Linked DNA regions of Homo sapiens: region 2 is linked to region 1. The links are contacts of gene promoters, found by promoter capture Hi-C in human tissues and cell types (Jung and others, 2019). All regions are on one chromosome and are shown on one strand. The core of a region is centred on a gene start or on the middle of the fragment in contact, and the rest is flanking DNA. Distances in the headings are between cores, read along the strand shown. Region 1 holds the start of CR1 (complement C3b/C4b receptor 1 (Knops blood group)). Region 2 overlaps CR1L (complement C3b/C4b receptor 1 like).

Region 1 (2,909 bases), core at 260-2,759:
ATGGAAACCAATGCGCACAGAAAGACAAATGCTGTATGTTATTAGTCATATGTGGACTCTAAAAAACTCATCTCATAGAAGTAGAGGGTAGAATACTGGTTACCAGAGGCTGGGGAAGGGAGAGACAATGGGAGATGGAGAGAGATTGGTTAAAGGGCACAGGATCACAGATAGATAGGAGGAATACATTCATCCTTGAATACTTAACCCTCTGCCCTAAATCTGTCAGTCCTACATCCATACTTCTTATTTCAGTAAGTAGCACCACCATTCATTTCTAATCCTGGGGCTAACTCTTTTTTTTTTTTCTTTTCTGAATCATGTCTCCTTTTAATGGTTAAGGAAAACAAGTTTAACATAAAATTAGCAACAACAACAACAACAACAACAAAATCAAGGTTTAAAGTCAAAATTATTTTAAGAGAAAAACCCAGGCAAAATAGCCTACCTACAGGCAGGCAGTACATGTCAGAAGGACAGGCCACCCCCAATAAAAAAGATAAAATATTATTTTTTCTACCTTTTTTAAACTTAATTATTTAATTATTTCTTTCTTTTTTCTTTTTTTTGTTTCTTTTTTTTATTATACTTTAAGTTTTAGGGTACATGTGCACAACGTGCAGGTTTGTTACATATGCATACATGTGCGACGTTGGTGTGCTGCACCCATTAACTCGTCCTTTACATTAGGTATATCTCCTAATGCTATCCCTCCCCCCTCCCCCCACCCCACAACAGGCCCCGGTGTGTGATGTTCCTCTTCCTGTGTCCATGTGTTCTCATTGTGGAAGCTGGAAACCATCATTCTCAGCAAACTACCGCAAGGGGGCTAACTCTTGATTGCTTTCTTCTCACCACCAACCTTAAGAAAGGAAGTAACCAAAATCCAATACATGAGCAACTGTTCATTCCATCTCCAATATCTTTGTTAATTGTCCACTTTATCCACCCAGTCAGGGCCGCCATCAAACCTCACTTGGATGTCGGCAAAAGCTCCCCTGACTGGTCTTCGCAGTCCATTATTGCCCTATTCTAATCTACCTTCCATACTATACACAGATTTACATTTTTTAAATGTGTATCTAATTGTCCCTCCCTTTTAAAAAATCTTACAATGGCATGACGTCTCAATTCAGGGTAAGGAAATTGTTTCTTCACATTCCCTGTACACCGTACACATCGCCTGCAATTGCCCTTCAACACGGAGAGCAGGCATTTCATTAGCTGACCTTCCCACACACATTCTTGCAAAGAGGAAAAGTTAAGCAGGGTGTTTGGAGGCGAGCTGCCATCATCCACCGCCTTTGTCTGGAAGCGCAGGGCCTCACACGCGGGATCCATCGGAAGCCCGAGCATTGTCAAGCTCTGCTGCTGCACCTGGGTCAGCAAGGTGGGCTCTGCCAGCGAAACTCGTTAGAAACAATGCAAATGGGGAGTAAACATGACCTCGCCCATGAAGGGGAAGCTGTGGTCAAAAGCATTTTGTCCCGGAACCCCGCAGCCCTCCCCACACTCTGGGCGCGGAGCACAATGATTGGTCACTCCTATTTTCGCTGAGCTTTTCCTCTTATTTCAGTTTTCTTCGAGATCAAATCTGGTTTGTAGATGTGCTTGGGGAGAATGGGGGCCTCTTCTCCAAGAAGCCCGGAGCCTGTCGGGCCGCCGGCGCCCGGTCTCCCCTTCTGCTGCGGAGGATCCCTGCTGGCGGTTGTGGTGCTGCTTGCGCTGCCGGTGGCCTGGGGTGAGAGGCGGGCGGGCGTGGGGAGGCGCCCGGGCGGACGAGGAACCCGGGGCCCCGCAGAGAACTCGCGTGCAGCGCTGAGCTGCGCTGCTCTGCGCGCCCGGGTCCGAAGGCAGCGCGATGGGTGGGCTGAGCGCGCGACCCGGCAGGGCGGCGGGTGTAGGATCCTTCTGCGCACTGGAGACCCTCGCTGCTTCTGGGTAAGCGTGGAGTTCCCAGGTGCAGGGGCTTAAGTCGTGACGAGCGCAGTGGAAGGCGCAGATGCTGAGCGGGTGCCGCACGAAATTCCTTGCCTTTGTGTATTCACAGCCTCGGCTGGCTATAGCCAAGACGTGGCGTTGATCCTAGTGAAAGGGAACTTGGGGATCCGACAAACCTGAGTTCTGGTCCTAGAAACTTAACTGTGAGGCAACTTAGCACACCTGAGTCTGTTTGCTCTTCTGTAAAATGGGGACACTGGTATCTCTGCATCGTGGAGTTGCTGCCTCAGTGGCATTAAGCCTGTCGAGTATCTAACACAGGGCTATGTGTCCCCGAGTCCATTTCTATCCCCCAACCGTTACCTCTGTACTTTGCTCCCAATGGTGTTTAGACAAGCAGTCCTAGGGATGCAGGTGTTACCTGACAACTGCCCCGCATGGAACTGTCCTCGCCCCCCACACCAAGCCACCACGGCCATCATCACCATGCACTTAATTGACAGCATACTTTAAGACAGATGCATGCCAGGCACTTGCGGATTAGAAGAGCAAGGGAAGCCCCAGAACATGCAATGTAACCGTTGCAGGTAGAAGGGACAGTAGATATGTTTACAGTTCGCATTTTAGTGATGTGTTTAGTACAAAATAACGCCTATTATAATTATTATGGAAATTTTGAGGCCACATCTCTTCCTTTTTCTTAACTTCAAATAGGTAAACATCTTCAGTTAGAACCCTTCTATTATTATTTTTCGGCTCCCCAGAAGTCTTCTTGGTTGCCTAGACTCACTGGCAACATCTCATTTGAAGTGACAGTCTTGGTTGTTTTTGTCCAGCCTATTCCTGACAACTCCGGGTTCGCCCTTCTCTGCCACTAGACATTTTACATTCATTATTTGAGTGTTCCTTCTTCTCTAAAAGAGTAAATAAAATAAAATAAAGTAGAACCAAGTCCCGCAAGAGTTGTT
Region 2 (2,909 bases), core at 277-2,776, 190 kb after region 1:
TAATGTAGGTGACCGGTTGACGGGTGCAGCAAACCGCCATGGCACATGTATACCTATGTAACAAAACTGCACATTCTGCACATGTACCCCAGAACTTAAAGTATAATAAAAATTAATTAATTGATTAATTAATTTTAAAAAACAAAATGAGTCCAGGCGCAGTGGCTCATGCGTGTAATCCCAGCACTTTGGGAGGCTGAGGTGGGAGAAATCACCTGAGGTCAGGAATTCAAGACCACCCTAGTCAACATGATGAAACCCCGTCTTTACTAAAAATACAAAAATTAGCCAGGCATAGTGGCGTGCACCTGTAATCCCAGCTACTTGAGAGGCTGAGGCAGGAGAATCACTTGAATCTGGGAGGTGGAGGTTGCAGTGACATTGCACTCCAGCCTGGGCGACAAGAGTGAAACTCTATCTCAAAAATAATAATAATAATAAATAACCAAAATGATATCGAAGTCACTAATAATTACAACATAATAGCTACTATAATGTAACAATGTGTCAAGTGTCTGCAGAAGGACCCACTGTTGTCTCACTATTCATTTGATCTCCATTTGGCACTGTTTCGTTGTTTGAATAAAGCTTTATGCTGCCAGGTTTTCCTACATATTTGTAAAACAAAGTTCTCAGCCATTCCAATAACCATGACTGTTACTTGACATTGCTTCATTCATGTATAGTACTATCAAGTTTGAGCCTACCCTCACTATGACTAGTTTGGCCCAACCATCTATCACAACAGAGGGTCTCAGGTGAAGTAAAATAAATGTTATAAATTCTTCCAAATTTATGGCACACTTTGAACAGTTTGAGACATACTAATTGAGAATTGCTAACTTTAACATTTTAAGTATAAAATAAGTGTTCAGTTCTTTTTGGTCAGCTTGGATTGCCTTTGGTTCTAGTTATAAATCATTTTCTTTCTTTCTTTCTTTCTTTCTTTCTTTTTTTCTTTCTTTCTTTCTTTTTCTTTCTTTCTTTCCTTCCTTCCTTCCTTCCCTCCTTCCTTCCTTCTTTCTTTCTTTCTCTTTCTTTCTTTCTCTCTTTCTCTTTCTCTCTCTCTCTCCCTCTGACTCTCTCTCTCTCTCTACCCCGCCCCTTTCTTTCCTACTGACAAGGTCTTGCTTTATTGCCCAGACTGGAGTGCAGTGGCATGATCAACACTCACTGCAGCCTCAATCTCCCAGGCTCAAGCGATCTTCCTGCCTCAGCCTTCTGAGTAGCTAGGACTACAGGAATGTGCCACCATGCGTGGCTTTTTAATAAAATTTTTGTTGAGACAGGGTCTCACTATGTTGCCCAGGCTTCTCTCGAACTCCTGAGCTCAAGCAGTCCTCCTACCTCAGCCTCCAAACGTGCTGGGATTACAGGCGTGAGCCACTGTGAATGGCCTACTTAGATGAATCTTACTGATAAAAGCCCATCCATGCATCCATATATTAATACTTATAAGGCATAGAAATACATACAACAGGACTACATACACACATACATATGTATATATATGACAGCTTCCCTGCACTCAAGAAGCTTGTGTTGTCTTTTAAAAAAATGAAATTTATAGGAAAAACTGTAACTCATCTTTGATTTATATAAAAATGTGTCATAAGATAATAAAAAAGAGAAATCCCATCCAACTGAGAAGGCATGGAAGAGAAAATGACAAAGTCCCAAGAATGTGAAATTTGGGAAGGTGATAGACAATTCTTTGACAAGTGGAAAATGTCCCTCTGAATTCTATAAGAGTGTAATCTCTGGAAGTAGTAATTTAATTGGGTAGTTGACCTGTGTATTTAGAATGTAACATTCCTTATTTTTTGCCTCTAGATACCGACTCATTGGTTCCTCGTCTGCCACATGCATCATCTCAGGCAACACTGTCATTTGGGATAATAAAACACCTGTTTGTGACAGTGAGTTGAAATATGCATTCCTATTTCTTTTACCGATACATTCTAATTTTTCTCTGGAATAATAAAAATCTTAACCGAATTCCTTCTGTGCAATCTGTACTTCACATGGCTGAAGACAGCCATAATGTTCTCAGATATTCCTATGGGGTTCCTGGCAACTCTTTCTTTAAGTTCTTTCTTATCCTGGGATGTGTCTTTTCTAATTCTAGGGGCCTAAATACGTAAAAGGCTTCAAACTTGATTTTACTTCAATAAACTTGAAATTATGTTGGTTCTACCACCTCCAGTATAATAATCATCCTGCTTGGCAAATCAGTAAAGATTTTAAAAATTGATACTCTTCAAGGTTAGCGAAGCTGTGGAAGAACCTGGACTCTCATGTACCACGAGATCAACACATCCTCTTGAAAGGCCCCATGCACTATAAACCTCAGAAGTGGGCATGTATTTTAACCTACTTCTTAGAATTTATACTTAGGAAATAATCACACACTTTTTAAAGCAGTTTGGTATAAACTTTTCATTGCAGCATTATTTATATTAGTTAAAATGTTAGAGTAACCTAAATATTTTAAACTATGGTTTGGAAATAATCTACTAGTAGGAAAAAGATGTGTTCAAATGACCATTACAAAGAATTCCCTAAGAAACATGAAATAGCTATGCAGAATGAAAATAAGTATATCCATACACTGGCATGGTATTCAGCCATAAAAAATGATAGCATAAAGAAGCACTTAATGACTAGAAAGAGATGTGTTTTATGTGGAAAAAGAATCAGATGAACGGCATATATGGCAAGATCTCATTTTATTAAAAAAAAATACACCTATGTAGTGAGGGCCAGGCTGAGGCTGAGAGAAATGCAGTGTATAACATCTTTGTCTTACTCTTCTCTTTGGATAACTTGGGGACTTCTTTACTTTTCTTCTTGGTATTTAAAAATGTTGTTACTTTTACTAGAAAGTTTACGAGCTTCAGAATCTAAAT

What was found. Contacts are between HindIII fragments. The study calls those that stand out against the background at their distance.
Region 2: a contact is called between a fragment that was not itself captured here and the fragment with the promoter of CR1 in region 1, in 1 of the 25 tissues and cell types used here (aorta).

What each region holds. Positions count from the first base shown.
Region 1 is chr1:207,494,648-207,497,556 of GRCh38, forward strand. CR1 (complement C3b/C4b receptor 1 (Knops blood group)) reads left to right here and starts at 1,510. Exons shown (of 47, transcript NM_000651.6): 1 at 1,510-1,741. The coding sequence starts at 1,621. The HindIII fragment of the contact is 14,814 bases long and covers 1-2,909 here.
Region 2 is chr1:207,682,039-207,684,947 of GRCh38, forward strand. CR1L (complement C3b/C4b receptor 1 like) reads left to right here. Exons shown (of 12, transcript NM_175710.2): 4 at 1,834-1,919. Among named protein-coding and RNA genes, the nearest start is that of CR1L, 38 kb to the left of the region's middle. The HindIII fragment of the contact is 6,489 bases long and covers 1-2,909 here.